Linked DNA regions of Homo sapiens: regions 2, 3, 4, 5 and 6 are each linked to region 1. Evidence: promoter capture Hi-C in 16 types of primary human blood cells and fetal thymus (Javierre and others, 2016). All regions are on one chromosome and are shown on one strand. Each heading gives the region's core, a stretch centred on a gene start or on the middle of the fragment in contact. The rest is flanking DNA. Distances are from core to core; before and after follow the strand shown.

The links. Contacts are between HindIII fragments. The CHiCAGO score rates a contact against its expected background, and 5 or more counts as called.
Region 2: a contact is called between a fragment that was not itself captured here and the fragment with the promoter of SCAPER in region 1, in 6 of 17 cell types (naive CD4 T cells, total CD8 T cells, naive CD8 T cells and 3 more). The highest score is 7.9, in naive CD4 T cells.
Region 3: a fragment that was not itself captured here is called in contact with the fragment with the promoter of SCAPER in region 1 in 4 of 17 cell types (non-activated CD4 T cells, total CD8 T cells, naive CD4 T cells and 1 more); the score reaches 5.9 in non-activated CD4 T cells.
Region 4: a contact is called between a fragment that was not itself captured here and the fragment with the promoter of SCAPER in region 1, in 5 of 17 cell types (megakaryocytes, fetal thymus, erythroblasts and 2 more). The highest score is 7.4, in megakaryocytes.
Region 5: a fragment that was not itself captured here is called in contact with the fragment with the promoter of SCAPER in region 1 in 8 of 17 cell types (non-activated CD4 T cells, naive CD4 T cells, monocytes and 5 more); the score reaches 8.0 in non-activated CD4 T cells.
Region 6: a fragment that was not itself captured here is called in contact with the fragment with the promoter of SCAPER in region 1 in 4 of 17 cell types (total CD4 T cells, non-activated CD4 T cells, activated CD4 T cells and 1 more); the score reaches 7.1 in total CD4 T cells.

The regions. Positions count from the first base shown.
Region 1 is chr15:76,903,905-76,906,604 of GRCh38, reverse strand. SCAPER (S-phase cyclin A associated protein in the ER) reads left to right here and starts at 1,265. Exons shown (of 32, transcript NM_020843.4): 1 at 1,265-1,306. RefSeq lists an enhancer at 919-1,419 and silencers at 1,160-1,469, 1,480-1,589, 1,610-1,689. The HindIII fragment of the contact is 6,645 bases long and covers 1,028-2,700 here.
Region 2 is chr15:77,456,690-77,459,427 of GRCh38, reverse strand. It overlaps HMG20A (high mobility group 20A), which reads right to left. Exons shown (of 10, transcript NM_001304504.2): 2 at 932-1,024. The coding sequence starts at 1,020. Among named protein-coding and RNA genes, the nearest start is that of HMG20A, 37 kb to the right of the region's middle. The HindIII fragment of the contact is 878 bases long and covers 883-1,760 here.
Region 3 is chr15:77,440,684-77,443,383 of GRCh38, reverse strand. The region is part of intron 1 of HMG20A (high mobility group 20A); the gene reads right to left. Among named protein-coding and RNA genes, the nearest start is that of HMG20A, 21 kb to the right of the region's middle. The HindIII fragment of the contact is 191 bases long and covers 1,309-1,499 here.
Region 4 is chr15:76,339,661-76,342,360 of GRCh38, reverse strand. ISL2 (ISL LIM homeobox 2) reads right to left here. Exons shown (of 6, transcript NM_145805.3): 4 at 1,802-2,085; 5 at 1,060-1,227; 6 at 1-642. The coding sequence ends at 526. Among named protein-coding and RNA genes, the nearest start is that of ISL2, 4.2 kb to the right of the region's middle. RefSeq lists enhancers at 1,468-2,223, 2,421-2,630, 2,651-2,700. The HindIII fragment of the contact is 7,335 bases long and covers 1-2,700 here.
Region 5 is chr15:77,424,540-77,427,239 of GRCh38, reverse strand. The region is part of intron 1 of HMG20A (high mobility group 20A); the gene reads right to left. Among named protein-coding and RNA genes, the nearest start is that of HMG20A, 5.0 kb to the right of the region's middle. The HindIII fragment of the contact is 2,385 bases long and covers 241-2,625 here.
Region 6 is chr15:77,484,090-77,486,789 of GRCh38, reverse strand. It overlaps HMG20A (high mobility group 20A), which reads right to left. Exons shown (of 10, transcript NM_001304504.2): 10 at 1,187-2,700. Among named protein-coding and RNA genes, the nearest start is that of HMG20A, 65 kb to the right of the region's middle. The HindIII fragment of the contact is 4,491 bases long and covers 1-2,700 here.

The DNA.
Region 1 (2,700 bases), core at 16-2,515:
ATATTAGCCAAATTAAACAGAGTTTGAGCAAAGAATTATTCCCGAATCAGGCAGCCTCCTGAGCCAGAGTAGGTTCATACAGACTCCCGCAGAGCCACATGGTGGAAAAAGGTTTATAGACAGAGAAAGAAAAGTGAGGTAGGGAAACAGCCAGAATGGTTATAGCTAGACGTTTACCTTATTTGAACACGGTTTGAACAGTTGGCCGTCTTTGGCCAAAACTTGGTGATTGGCGCAAGAGTAGGTTGCAGTGTATTTACACCTCCATTTAGGTTATAGTTTACTATTTACGGAGAAACCTTCAGGCTGAACTTAAAATATGTAAGGACACAGCTTTTGGCTAAACTTGATGTAACACTTGCCTGGTTTCACCCTGCTCCAAGAAGCCGGAGGTTTTTTAGAGATTTCTGTTTATTTTGCTCACGTATTAACTCCAAGCATCTAGAATACCATCTGATATATAGTATGTGGTCAATAAACATTTGCTGAATAAATGAAAAAGCGAGTTTTCTAAGAAGGCAAGAGAGAAGGGGAGCCAGAACATAGCCATATGGTTCCTGCCCCCACAACGCTTGTGAGTCCAGGACTTCCCGCCTACTGCGGGTGGGGAGGGAGAGGGAAGGGTAAAGAGCTGTTTCCCAGCTGGATGAAAAGGGACGGTGAATATTCGTTTGATAATTACAGTCTGCATTGAATCTTTTTTCTATTTTGTTCAGACTGATTTAAACGTTAAAGTATTTAATTCATCATATGTTTGTCTTTGAAGTAGATGAAACGTATTTGTTAGGTCTCTGTACTTCGACCTTCCAAGCCTGGCACACAGAAGGGCCCTGATAAAGCTTCTCGGAGGCCTAGTTGTGTTCAGCGCAGCCCAGCGTGCTCCTGTCAAGTGCTTTCGCCAGCACAGATTTCTGTGAGGCGCGTCTCTAAGTCCTTAATCTGTGGATTGACTGTGGTGATAAGGCAGGAGGAGGGAAGAGATTGAGTACGAGAAAGACCTGTGTGGCCAAAAGCGGCGGTGTAAGCTTAACCTAGGAAAAGAAACAGCTTCGGAAACGCCGCGCCGGGACATCGAACCAAATCAACCCTCACACCTCCCGCCTGGGCGCCCCAACGGCGCGAACGGGCGTGCGCCTGCGCGCGGACAACACAGATCTTGCAGCCGGGAGCGGCGCGGCAGCGGCTGAGATCACGTGGTGCGCCGGGAAGCCACCCCGCCTCTCCGAGGCCTCCCTGCCCCGCCCCGTCACGCCCCTTTCCCGGCGGGACGCTTTGAGCCGCCCCGAACTAAGCAGGGCGGTCGGGGGTGAGTGTCCGCGAGGGGCGTGCGTAGCGCAGACCCGGGCGGGTCCGGGTTGGGGCGCGGGCCGTCTGAATGCCTTGCGGGGACCAGGGGACAAAATGGCGGCGGGGTACGCCCTTTCACCCCCTCCCCTCACCTGGGAGTGCGAGTTGAGCGGGGCAGGGATCGTTGCTGGGGGAGGGGAGCCGCGGTCGCCTGGGGAGGGCTCGGAGGTCGGCCTCGGAGGCCTCGGGACGGGGGCTGGGGTGAGCCGCGTCCGGGCCCTGCCCTGCGGGCTCATCTGGGGTGTGAGGGACGTGAGACCCCGCACACTACGCGGTCTGAGGGGTGAGTGGGGGGCTGCCGCGTCACCTCACTTGGGGGCAGCCCCGGCCGCGGGTGACGAGGCTTCTGGAATGTCTAAATGCGAGGGGCCCCTGGAGGAGCCTCCCTTCGTTTGACAGGTGATCGTCTTCGTCATCTGTCATTCCCAGCGGGGTTTACCATGCTTTCCCTGTACTCTGATCTTAGCTCTGCCCAGGAAACGGGGCAGGAATGGCCTCTCCGTCTTCCAGATGCGTGCGCTGAGGCCTGGAGGGGCGAAGAGCCTCTCGCACCTGGGAGTAGTGGGACCCAGCCTCCTGCCTCTGTTGCTGCTCTTTTCCAAAACAGCACTTCCTTGGCGCCTTTCCTCTACACCGTTTTCCAGGCGCGTTCGTGGGAACGGCACCAGGGAGGAACGGGATTGTTAGAAAGCAGGCACAAAACTGGTCCTGTAAGCAACACCTGCTGCTGTTAAGGGGGCCCCAGCTGAGATGAGGCCGCCTGTTTGTGAGCAGCTTCCTGTTGCTGGTGGACTGCATCTCTTATTCTAGTTGTGACAAGTTATTTTCCATGAAAATAGCTATTCATTAATAGTCATTTTACCGAACAGATACTAATTCCTTATATGAATTATAGTTTGTCTTAGTTTATGGATTAATTTCATCATTAACTTTTCATCTTCATAAATAATCTGGTAGAAGGATGGATGGGCTAGGAGTAATACTTATTTTATGAATGGAGAAACGGGGGCTCAAAAGGTTATTACTTGCCTTAGATCACCAGCTGGTGAGTGGTAAATCTGGGGTTAAGTTTTCTGACCTAAGGTTGGTAGTCTGACCACTGTCCCACTCTGGCCTATACTGGTGCTCTTTCCCTTCTGTTATTTCTGTTAACTATGACTTTTCCTCAAAGTTTGTTGGTTGCAGATGATTTATGCCACTTGAAGAATGATATCCACTAAAGAATTAATATTTTTAATCAATCAAAGAGTCAAGTTTTAATGTGATTTGGAAGGTTGTCTGTGGGAGAAGTAATCTGATGGCTTTGAAGGCAGACTGTTTTGAGTTTGAATCTCAGCCCCAACCCTTGTTTTT
Region 2 (2,738 bases), core at 72-2,571, 550 kb before region 1:
TCTGACTCAACAAGTAGAATTTGAACTTTAAAAGGCCTATGATTTTTATCTATTTTGATCAATGCTTTCTATCTAATGCCTGGAACAATGACACATAGCAGATACTCAGAAAGTTTTTACTGAATGAATATAGTAACTAAGCAGCCTTTAGAAAAGTCTTGGAGAACACTTTCATCTGAGTAGTGAGGTCAAAGGCGGATATCAACGAGGTGAGACATAAATGTGAGGGAAGGAAACAGAATTACAAAGTATAGCCTATTTTTTAAACAGCTCTAAAGAATATTAAAATAATTCATCTTAGGGATTAGCTAGCACTTCAGTCTATTAGTGAACACACTTTCTCTTTGCCAAATAACTTCTAAACATCTAGAAAAGATAAAAATTCAAGTGGAACAGAGATTTTCAAGGGAAGAGGTGGACTACTGTTATTAACCCTTTTCTATATCTCTTTAAATATTTGTCAAAAGATCCCACAGAAAGGAGAAGGGGGTGGGATGGGGAAAGGAACAGAAGTCAGCTAAAGTTACTAAGCATCTTGAATAAAGAACCACATTAAAAAATCTGATCTTTGGGAAAAAACTATTTTAATATCTGTGGTAATTTGAACAGAAAAAATGCATTTGTTTTTTAGAGCTAGCTCTGTGGCAGGTATTTCCTTAATGGTGACTATATAATTTTCTTAACTGGAGTCACCAGTGTTTGCTAGATTCCACATATTGTTGTACCAGTTCACAAAAACCAGAGCACTGCAAAAGATAATTGAATGCAGATTACAAAGTGGTTTATGATGGCTGTCACTCTCTTTGCAAAGTGAAACAAGTGCACCGTCTATTCTTATGATATAAAACTGCCTCTTTAGGACCTCTTACTTTGCTAGAAGCTTTGTTTTGAGGCCTATGGAGAAGTCCAGTGTCCTAAAGCAGCTGCTTACCCAGTGGTAGCCAGATCATTACTCTCCTTGGAACCGTCTTCATCTGCAAAAAGGGGCGGTAGGGTGGAGCTAGTCATCAAGTTTTCCATCTCTCTGAAAGGAAAAGAGAATAAAAAAAAATTAATGGCTTAATTACTTCCATTTCAAGTTCCACTAATTTAAGAGCCAGCCTTCTTGAACTTTATCATATAAGCAACAGAATAAAAACTGACCTAAATATTTATTTTCTTGACTTGGACACATCAATTTAAACTGTATGGTAAATGGGCCTTTTAACCTTGGTCTTATCAACTGACCAGACTGAAAACAAGTTAGGTTTTAACAAATGGGATGTGGTTTGGAAAATTCCTTTTTATTTATCCAGAGTATCTTCAAAAGTATTCATTTCCTGTAGAAATTGTTAAGCAGGGTAACTCAGAAGCACTGCCACTCTGAGCAAGCTATTTAAGCTCTTTGAGCTACAATTTCACCATCTTAGACTAAGACAAAATTGCTGACTTAACCCAAAGGGTTATTGTGAGAGATTAAAATGAAAGTGCTCCATAAACAGAGAAAATCTAAGGTAGTAAGTGCATTGAGTATTATATAAAGAAAGATATTGTTATTACAGCATTACCAGTTCTCAGTCCCAGATGAATCATCTATAGATTAAATGATGGCAAACTGAGCCCTCCAAAAGGAAATAATGCAAAGGAAGTAGAGGATGGAAGGCATGCTGATGTGGCTCTCAGTCAAAGAAACCACACTTCCAGGTCAGAAATATGCTCCACACACCATCATAACCAAGAGCAGAAATAGCATGCACCTGGGTACAGGAAACAACTAAGCTTAATTGAAGAAAACAAACAAATCACAAGAACTGAGGTTATCAGACTGAAAGGATAAAAGGACAAAGTGACAAAGAGAATAATTTCATTTGGCATATCACTATGAAAAACGATTTTTGCCTTTCAAGGCTTACCACAAAGGGCATCACCCCATGTAGTTAAAAGCAGCAGTCTTCCCTTCATCATGAAAGGGATATTCAAACAAAACATTCAGCAGTGACCCCAAACATCAGCCACTTACACAGAACTGCAAAGCACTCAAGAAAGAGTGCCTCAATCAATTGGGAGAATTGAGAAGCAAATTATGAGAATTCACTTAGGAGCTTCCTCAGGAGTTATTTCAGGCGCTGCTGCTGCTAAGGAGACCTGGTGAAACAGCAATTAAAAGGAAAGCACAGCGGCAAAGCAGAGCCAGGATCACTCCACTGAGGTGGAAATATGAAGAAAATGCCGATGACACGAGGACCACATTCTCCATGTTCAATGGAGTGATTTATTTCCAAAAGATAACACTGATGTTTTATTCCTTATTCTTACTTATTCTCACTTCTAAGTTTATTATTTAGCAGGCCAAGTTCCATAAACAGCTTGATGGGAAAAACACATCTCTGTACAAATATTACCCATTACAGTAGGTAGAGCATGGAAGGTAGAGAGGAACTTCTCACTCAACCATCATAAGCACTTTATTCTACTGCAGGAATGCTTGCAACCTCTTTTCAGTTCCTTCAAGATAAGGTGTTTACAAGTGGAATAGCTCTAATAAATACCACAAAATTCCATTCCACATGTTTTACTGAATAACCCTGACTCAAGTGTACTTAAGTTTTAATTCACATTATACAATACAAAGGCGAGATTAAAGCCTGGGCTGCTAACATCACCTCACACCAATGTCAATGTTCATTTTACCAAAAGAAAACTGTAATATCTGTTAGATACCATACAGACTAACCATAGTGAGCAAACATTCAAATGGC
Region 3 (2,700 bases), core at 155-2,654, 540 kb before region 1:
TAATCATCATCATCATCATCATCATCATCATAAAAAATAGATATATAAGAACAAAGATTGGAAGGAAACACATCAAAATGTTCAAAGTGTTGGGAGGCCGAGGTGGGCAGATCACTTAAAGTCAGGAGTTCAAAACCAGCCTGGACAACATGGTGAAACCCTGTCTCTACTAAAAATACAAAAATTAGCCCGGTATGGTGGCAGGAGCCTATAATCCCAGCTACTCTGGAGGCTGAGGAAGGAGAATCGCTTAAACCTGGGAGGTGGAGGTTGCAGTGATGAGGGATCACACCACTGCACTCCAGCCTGGGTTACAGAGCGAGATTCTGTCTCAAAAAAAAAAAAAAAAAAAAAAAGTTCAAAGTAGTTATGTCAGGGTGGTGAAATTATGAATAATTACTTTCCAATCTTTGTTTTAAACTCAACCTTCAGCAGTATGGTTTTGTTACTTTAAAGAAAGAGGAAAAGTGCCATCAAGGATCACAGATGTTTTAAAATTAAATTTTAATTTCACATGCAATACTTAGTTTCTTTTTTGTAAAAAAAATATGGCTACACGTAGAGCTAAAATTCCCTTTTTGCCAGACTCTCCATACTCCCCTTTCCAGAAAAACACCATTAGAAGGATTTCTAAGTCCAGCCTGAGTGACAGAGCAAGACTCCATCTCAAAAACAAACAAACAAGGAGTTTCTAGCTTATTGCTGAAAGATGCCTTAAAGATAGTTGCTAATGATATATTCTTTCTCTCTCTCATCAGAATTAGGACTATAGGGCAGAGAAGAGTACGCATGTCTAGCAGGGAGAGTAAGGGCACAATTTATAAACCTCATGCTTTATATTAAAAATTCCCTTAAATTCTGCAGTCAGTTTTATAAAGCAGTATTTATTTTAACACAAGAATTAATGTTTTAAATTGCACGAGGCCAGGACAAGGATCATGTAGCCTCAAAACAGTATTTCCCCATGAGTGCAATAACACACAGCACAGATTCAGTTCATTTTCTTGACAGATAACTGACATATTTTGATACTGAGGGGAAAAAAGTGTTGTGACTTCCTTATTGAATATCTCCACTATATAGCAATATATTGAGAAGTTCTAACTCAATTTATGTCCTATTAACTTTCCAGATAAGTTACATGAAAATACACTGAAATTATCAAACAAGAATACCATTTAATTATGGGAAAACAGACCAGGAAAATGAGCTCAGCATTTCCTTAAGAGGTTTAACTCTGAAAATTACAATATATCTGAGGTTGTTATATGTACATTCTTATGTCACTGGCAGGAAAAGTAACAAGCTTTTGGTAAGTTGTTGTTTTACTTCTTGCCAATATACCTTAAGATAAACCTAAAATGTAATGTGTTTGATTCATCTCTAATTCCACTGGCATCTCTGTGCCTTCAGAAATTGGACTCTAAATTGCCTTACACGAAAAAGAAAAGTTATTGGTACTCTCAAGCTCATCATTACAATATTTTTCCACAGAAGCTTCTCTGGAGGCATTTATTCTTACTAGAAACTCTGTCCAAATATTTAATTTGGCCCTGGGTGTTTAGTAACATTAGAATATTTAAAAGACAAAGTTGATAAATTACAATCAAGATGTAGTAATGTGAGCTATGAGGGAAAAAAAGCTTAACTGTGATTTCTACAACAAATTCACTCAAAATTTGGAGACAAAAAGCATCTCAAATATTTGATAAAGGATGATATGCTGCATAAACTACAAGGAGACAACCTGAGGCAGTAGGAAGAGCTCTGAATCGAAGTCAGGAAATCTGACTTTGAGTTCAGGATATACTACCAACTAACTGGTTTCTGGGATCACTAAATGACTCTGGCTCAAGTTTTTTCACCTGTTCATGAAGAACAAAATCAACTTCAAATTTGTTTAGCTGTCAGACTACATAGAATACTGAGAAACAGTATATTTAATTATATGAACTAGAAACACTAACAAACTAGCAGAAAATAGGAATATATTAAAAATTCAATATAAAATCACAACCATAAACATATATGTACACAAACAAACACAGAGTTCTCTAAGCATGGTATGCACTTCTGAATTCTGTTCATATTTATTTGCTATCTGGGAGGGAGTCTCAGTTTATACTGAGGGCTCTGGAGTCAGACTGCCTAGATTCCAATCTCATCTTTTACGTATTAGCTGTGGAACTTGGGCAAGCTAGTCAAAAGCTCCAAACCAAGGTTTTCTTATCCTATAAATGAGAAGAGTAATAGTACATACTATATAGAAGTTATCTCAAGAAGTAATCTGTGTAAATAAAGCAGGTAGTATGGTGTCATCATATAGTAAGAGCCTAATAACAATAATGATAGCAATAATTGCAGCAAGAATTTATTGCTTACTAAGTACCAGGCACTATTTTAAGAGCTATACGTGTATGATACCACTTAATCCACACATCTGCCGTATCAAGTAGATATTATCATTAGCACCTATTTTATAGTGAACAAACTGATCCACAGAGGGGTTAAGTAACTTACAAATGTTTACTGTGATAGTCACTATGGCTATTCAAAAATATTTAGATCTCCTTTCAGAAACATAAGAGGAAACTTCCTCACTGCCTCAGAGAAGACACAAGGACCATGTAACTCATGGGCAATGAAAGTGAGTGACATATGATTCTTCTGGGCAGAAAATCTGAGTCTATAAGCAATTTG
Region 4 (2,700 bases), core at 161-2,660, 560 kb after region 1:
GTCCTCCGTCGAATAACTTAAACACTTTCAAGGCAAGTCTGGTTTCTACTGTTTCCCAGCAATCATGCGCTTTGGGAGTTTGAGTGTCTGTTCCTCTGAGTTATCCCCTTCCTTTTCCCCGCTAGGAGCCCGGGCGAAGCCGCCAGGGAGCGCTGAGCTGGGGCAGGGCGGGGGTCCGCGTGGGCGAGCTCCGGGCCGGCCGAGATGGGGACACAGGTGGGGCGTGGAGAGACAGAGCGGCGGCCACGTAGAGAGGAGAGGAGAGGGCAGAGCTAACCCTGGTAAGTCCCAGATTCTGGTTTTGAAAAACTAAGAGTCCTCGGAGCAGGGGTCTGCAGTCTGGTGAAAGCAGGTTGCATCCTGGCGCCTTGGGCTGTCCAGACCGTGTCTCTCGGTACTCTCTCATAAATAACAATAGAATAATTACGAAGGCGAGAGAGCTTTCGGAACTGGAATGGCCTGAGCATGGGTGAGTCTCATGCAGGGAGCATGCGAGGTCCGCGGGCTGGCAGGGAGGGGTCCCCCTCACGTCTCCACGGGACTCGGCACCATACTGTTGGGGGTGTCCGGGAGCTGCGAGGACAGGGAGGTCACGTCGCTGCCGGAGGAGTTGCCTAGGGAGCCGGACTCGGAGAAGGAGACCTGGGGCGGCGGAAACACCGGGAAGAGGCAGGTGAAGAGGCACGCGAGCTGGTGCTCCAGGGCCGCGTGCTCCGAGTCGGAAAGTGTCCCTTGGGGACCGGCCGCCAGCTGAGAGCAAGCCCTGCGGAGAAGGAGGCCAGGTCCCCAGGCGCACGAGGGGGGGATTAGGGCGGGGGAGCGGGTTGGTTAATCCTGCGACCTCTCTTGTGAGCACTTTAATCCAGGGAGACCTGGTTTAGGGCGCGTAATGGGCCGAGGTGAGGTTTCAGAGCCCGCCACTGTTCCCCCTCCCCCACCGCCTAGGGCTGTACCCAGCCCCTCAGCCCAAGGCCACCCCCTCCCCTCTCTGCCAGGCTAAGTGGCTAAATCCCCAACCCGCAGAGTCCCGAGGTCGGGGCGGGTAGGGCAGGGCCTCACCAGCTGTTGGAAGGCGGGTTGGTCCAGGTCGCTCTGGAGGGCAAACTCGCTGAGCGCCTTCCACGGCGGCTGGTACGTCTGCACCTCCACTGCGCTGCCCTGCACGGCGTTCTCATGGCGGATGGGACTGCCCGCCACCAGGGGCGTCCCAGTCAGTCCCTGAAGGCTCTGCGGGGCAAGCAGAAGGCAGTAGGTGCTCGAGTTAGGTCTGGCCTTTTCTGCCACCTTTGAGACTGGAGCTCCAGGCCTTGAGTGATTTAGGGTCTGCATTGCTTTGCGGGGAGGCGCACACTCGATCGCATCGGAAGAGCCCTCTTTCTCCACTGGGGATCTGCGGGGGCCGCAAACTTGCCACGATAGGTCAGCCTCGGTGCTGGAAGCCAACCGCCCGGTGAGGAAAGGCAAGACCTGCACTCCCACCTTTCTGCAGCTGCCGACGGAGTGCACAACCCACCAGCCCGACTGGCGGGCGCTGCACACTGCCATGCAGCCTTGGGCTCCGCGCAGCGCCCGGAACCCGCAACGCGGGGCTGCCACTGGGACAAGGAGAAACCCCGATCCCAGACAAAATAGGAAGCCTCAAATCCAAGGGAAGCCTTGCTGTGAAGGTACAGACATACACCATCTGGAGCGCCCAGTTCTCCCTGGATCTCCCAGGGCTCGCCCAGAAAAGGGCACGCAGATACCGCGGCGGAAGCGCAGCCCCCACCCGACTCGAGCCTCCGGCCCAGCGGCTGCTCACCGTCTTGTCGCTGTGCTGCTGCTGCTGCAGCTGCTTCATGAGAATGGATTTCTTCTTGTCCTTGCAGCGCTTGTTCTGGAACCAGACGCGGATGACCCGCGGGCTCAGGCCGGTCATCTCCACCAGCTGCTCCTTCATGAGAGCGTCGGGCCGCGGGTTGGCGGCGTAGCAGGTCCGCAGAGTGTGCAGCTGCTTCTCGTTCAGCACAGTCCGCACGCGGGTCGTCTTCTCCGTCTGCTTGTGCACGTGCGGGCGCAACGCGGGCTGCCGGCCCGACCCAGCGTCTGCCAGGACAGGGTGAGGCCAGAGGTTAGCGAGGGGCCGCCACCCACCCGCCCCGAGCCCAACCTCCGGGTGGCCCAGCCCCCCGGGGCCCGATTTCGTTTCTGTTTTATTCTGTTTGTTTCGTTTAATTGTTCGTCTTCCTCTCCATCTGTTCGCCTTACTCGGAGAGAGCTGTGCATTTTCGTTCTTTCTCTCGCTCCCGGGCCGGACTGCCCCGCAGCGATCTCTCCCGAGCTCAAGCAGGGCGCGGGAGCTCGGCGACAGGCCGCTGCGGGGAGGGAGTGGCTGCTCAGGGATGTGCCTCCTCCAGTCGCAGGACCCTCGGAACGAGCGAAGCCCTCCGGAAGAAGTCGGAGTTTCAGAGGAAGAGGAAAGAGGCTTGCCCAGGACTCTGGAGAGGGAAAGGGACCGACGTGGACCCAGGGCGAGGCGCTGCCCAGGGGACTGGGTGGGAGGTGCGAATATGCCGGGGGCCTACGAGGGCCCTTCCCCTCCTTCAGAGCCCATTTGGACAGGGCCAGGCCACATGTGTAGAAGACTCATCCACGGTTATGGACGGGCCTCCAGGGCTTGCAACAGTTCCTTCCTGCCCGCCCTTGGGCTTCGGCCCCTGT
Region 5 (2,700 bases), core at 184-2,683, 520 kb before region 1:
CCCTTGGTTCCTTCTCATTAAGATTTATCTATTTTTATTACCTGAGGAGAGCTTTAGAATCAAATTCTAACATCTTTGTCTAGTCTCTATTCTCCCATCTTCCCCAGTAACTTTGTTTTGATTGCTACTAGACTCCTTACCTTAGAATACTCCCACTCTTTAAACTCAGCTGACCGTAACACAGAAACCAAAAAGACCATATACCACATCCTTGACCTAATCAAGAAGAAATCTGAAGCTTCCTTCAAGGTCATAAGATGTTTTTCTCCTTTGTTAATACCTCTGTAGTCTAAGTATTTACCAAAATCCCTGCTACATTAAGACAAAAACCCAGAAGCTATCCTCATATCCATCCTCACCTGATCCTTAACATACCTTTAGCCCTGTACCTAGCTGCTTATATTTCTCTCTAGGATCTGAGAAAGAATGATCATTTCCTTGCTTTCACACCTCTTGCTTCTTTCTTCTGGCTCCATTCAAAATTCTCTATTCTTCAAGTCTAAGTATCTCTCTCTTTTAGATATAATTCACATACCATAAAACTGACCCCTTTAGTGTATATTTCAGGATTTTTTTTGTACAGTTGACCCTTGAACAACATGGGTTGAACTGCATGAGTCTACTTATATGCTGATTTTCTTCTGCCTCCACCACTTGAGACAGTAAGACCAACCTTTCCTCTTCCTCCTTCTCAGCCTACTCAATGTGAAGATGACAAGGATGAATACCTTTATGATAATCCACTTCCACTTAACGAATAATAAATAGTAAACATATTTTTTCTTCCTTATCATTTTCTTAGTAACATTTTCTTTCTCTAGCTTATTGTAAGAATACAGTACATAGTACATGTAACATATAAAACATGTGTTAATCAACTATTTATGCTATTGGTAAGGCTTCCAGTCAGCAGTAAGCTATTTACGTAGTTAACTTTTTGGGGAGTCAGAAGTTATACATGGATTTTTGACAACACAGGGGTTAGCACCCCGAACCCCCTCATTGTTCAGGTGTCAACTGTATATTAGTATACAAGATATTTTAGTATATAAGGTTATGCAACCACCACCACTATCTAATTCTGGCACATTTTCATCACTTCCAAAGGAAACTCCATACTAGCAGTCACTCCCATTCCCATCCACTAATGTACTTTCTGTCTCTATTAGTTTTGCCTAATCTAGACATCTTAAATAAATGGAATCACATAATAGGTTGCCTTTTGTATGTGACTTCTTTCACTTTAATATTTTCAAGTTTTATCCATGTTACAGCAGGTATTGCTACTTTGTTTCTCTTTGTTGCTGAATAATATTCCATTGTATGGCTATATCGCATTTTGTTTAGTCATCCAATAATTAATGGACATTTGAGTTTGCCTTTTACAAATAAGGCTGCTACAAATATTTGTGTGCAAGTTTTTGTGTGAACATGTTTTAAGTTCTCTTGGATATATACCTAGGAGTGGAAATACAAGTTAAGTGTCCAAATATTTGATATAAAAATCTATTTGGTTTCTGAGTTCAGGTAGCAGAGGGTATCTCTCACAATGCAAACAATTCTATATTAAGCTCTCCATGCCATCCCTACTCAAACACCTACCATCTTCAAAGTCTGCAGATATTAGTAACAATTTACTTTTTTCCAATTAAATTGAGGAGCAGAGATCAGTTCTTACAGCTCCAGTTATATAGGAGGTGCTTAATATATGCTTATCTGACACCCTAAGAAGCTCCCAAATGAGAGAATGATGACTTACTATTCACTCTTTCATTTTATAGATATTTGAGTGTCTAATGTATGATAGCCATTGTGCTGATGCTGGGCATAATTGTGGACAAAAGTTATTGATCAGTTTTGTCATACTCCAAGAGCCAGCTCACGTCCACAAATATTTACTGAATACCTATGATGTGAATGGTCTTGTGCCAGGTATGACAGCACAGAGTGGAATAAGACCTAGTCTGCAGCCTTTTAGGGAAGGCATAAACTCTACCTACAACAACGCAATAAAAACAAACAAGAGGAGCACTGGACAGTAAGTGCTGTAAGAAAGGTATAATGCTCTGGAGAGTTAATGGACAGAACGTGTACAGTTTGGGAGAGTGTAGAAGAGGATGGATATCAGAAAATATTTCTTAAATGTGGTACTTGAGAAACGACCTCAAAGAAAGTGGCATTTTGATAGATGGGGATTCCTAGGAAAAAAGAGTGTTTCAGGCAGAAAATAGCATGAGCAAAAAAAAATATTAATGCTGGGTGCAGTACAGATTTTTTTCCCCCCAGAGGCGATCCCGTTTGGATGTGTAGATGAATAATGTGAGGTATGATCATAGTGTGAAAGGTCATTTTTGGTTTTCGTATTTAAATAAGTTTAGGAGAATGAGTTGAAAGTCTGCCTGTAACAATTCAAATTACCTTAGTGATTTGTGCCAAGATTAAGATTCCTTTTCTTGAAACTTTTCTATTTTGTATATCTTCTAATCATGGAAATTAGTGATTTCTCCTTCCCACAAGGAAAAAAAATTAAATCTTGACAACTGTGTGAGCATGCTGATAGGGGGACAAGGCTGAAGCTCAGTCAGTCTACCACTGCATCCCATACTGTGGGGAAAATGTAAAGCTTAAAACAGACATGTGGGCAAATCACAATAGCCAGAGTAGCAGAAGCAAGATTGGGGGTAAGATAATTGCATTAAT
Region 6 (2,700 bases), core at 114-2,613, 580 kb before region 1:
ATCCTTCTTACAATAGTACAGGATTGCTGAGGCACGTGTTATGTCAGAAGAGGAAACTGGAGTTGAAACAAATCAAGACTTGCCCAATGCCACACAAATGGCTACTTGGAGAGCAGCAGGCTCTGGAAACCAGGTTGCCTCACCCCTAGGATTTTTAAAAGCATAGTAGAAATAGGTGACAAATTTCCTTTAAAAATATTTTGATTAGTTATTTTCAAAAAGCAAGCATTTGGCTGGGCGTGGTGGCTCATGCCTGTAATCCCAGCACTTTGGGAGGCCGAGGCTGGTGGATCACAAGGTCAGGAGTTCAAGACCAGCCTGGCCAACATGGTGAAACCCTGTCTCTACTAAAAATACAAAAATTAGCTGGGCATGGTGGCGTGCACCTGTAATCCCAGCTACTCGGGAGGCTGAGGCAGGAGAATCGCTTGAAACTGGAAGGCGGAGTTTGCAGTGAGCGGAGATCGTGCCACTGCACTCCAGGCTGGGCAACAAGAGCAAAACTCCATCTCAAAAAAAAAAAAAAAAAAGCAAGCATTTAAGCACATCTCCTTTCTTCTATCAAATGATCTTCTATCAAGGGGACATCAGAGTCACTGACTTTAAAAACATCCTTGTAAGTTGTCTTCAGAATACTACTGCTATATTAAAATGAATTAGAATTCACTGTATTGTTACAGCATACATTAAAAGAGCTGACTTCTCAAACCGGTAAAGATACATTTTGAAGTAGCAATTAGTAAAATGAATGTGTTACTGTTTTAAAAGCATAACAGATGTCATGATTAATGTAGAGTTGACAAAGTCTTTAAGAGGAAAAAACAGAAATAGAACTTTTTTATTTATTTTTTATTTTTTTGAGACGGAGTCTCGCTCTGTTGCCAGGCTGGAGTGCAGTGGCACGATCTCGGCTCACTGCAACCTCCACCTCCCAAGTTCAAGTGATTCTCCTGCCTAAGCCTCCTGAGTAGCTGGGACTACAGGCTCATGCCACCATGCCCGGCTAATTTTTGTATTTTTAGTAGAGACGGGGTTTCACCAGGTTGGCCAGGATGGTCTCGATTTCTTGACCTCGTGATCTGCCTGCCTTGGCCTTCCAAAGTGTTGGGATTACAGGCATGAGCCACCGTGCCCGGCCAGAGGTAGGACTTTTTGTTACAAAGCAAGTAAAATTGAAACAGGTGAATTCAACGTAGAAAAGTTTTAATGAGACAAATGTCAAACAAGCACATCAACTTCTTAAAAAACAAAGAAAATCTGAAAGTTTAATTACAAAAACACTTATACAGAAAACTTGGCATTTCAACAGTTCCAAACACATGTACACAAGTTTTTTCTAAAATCAGTCAGAAATAAAATACCTTGTCTCCCTTTCCTCAGCTGCTTCTTGTATTTTAATTAAAAAGAAACAAAGAAATCTGTAACACTGAATAGGCAACAACTTATTTCTTGAGAACATAAAAGTACAGTAATATCTACAGGTGTACTGGGAAACATGAGTTAGGTATTGTGCTAGCCTGTAACTTCATTTACTGCCTCCTCACTGAGCACAGAGGAGAGAGGAGGTGGCACAGACCTGGTCTATAGATACTGACAGTTTTGTGGCATCTGAATCCCAGCCACCAGAGGCAGGTGAGTAGCTACTGGGAAAGACAGCATTTCAGAAGCAAGCTGCTTATTTTGTGAAAATGATTTCATACTGTAGGCTCTCTTGAAATCTCATGCATTCCTGAATATGCAAATGTTTCAAGTCACTGTCAAGTGTCCCATCTAGAGTCAGAAGAATGATGATCCTGGACCATGTTATGGCCTTTTCTGGTCACAAAAGCAGTGCTAGCAATGCTGCACAAAACTGAACACAAATGAGAAACAGAAATATGAGGAGGAAGGAAGACAGGACACAAAGCATCTGGCAGAAGGAAAAAACAAAACTCCAGAATGGGCTCTGGATGTCCTTCTGCCATAGACAGTGAGTTCTAGCTTGGGCTTTGCAGACAAGGAGTCTAAGAGAAGTGGCAGAAATAGCAGATGATGGCAGGGAAATAGGAAAATACAGAAGAGCAAGAGAACTGGCTAGGTTTATAGCAATAGATAATAATGGGGTCTTATTCTAAAAAATTGCCAAGTGATGGTATGTGGGTTTCAGCGCATGGATATTTGATATATGTTCATATAAGACATTTTAAAAACAGATTTTGTTGCTGTTGTTTTCCTTTGGACTAATAAAGAAAACAGGCAAGGAGATGCTGAGAAGACAGGATGGTGTAGCAACATGACAGGTAGTTCTGCCCTATGCCCTGACTTATGGGCATACTATGAGAGGGGCCGCACTTCTATCCACCTGCCTGCAGTGGTGTGGGGCCCAGACAACGGGCTCTGCTTGCTCTGCCTTTGGTTCCAAAGATCTCAGCTGTAACCTTTAGCCTTGTGCTCTGCAGTGTCAAAACAAAAACAAAAACAAAAACAATGAACAACCAAAAAACCCTGAGGTAAGAATCAGAACCTCTCTTTCCTTTTGCTGTTAAAGGAACCAGAAACTGCTAGGCGTGATGCTTGAGCCCAAGAGTTGTAGGCTGTAGTGTGCTATGATAGCATCTGTGAATAGCCACCGCACTCCAGCCTGGGCAACACAGGAAGACCTCATCTGTAAACAAAACAAAACAAAACAAAACAAACAAAAATGAACCAGAAAGTCCTCTT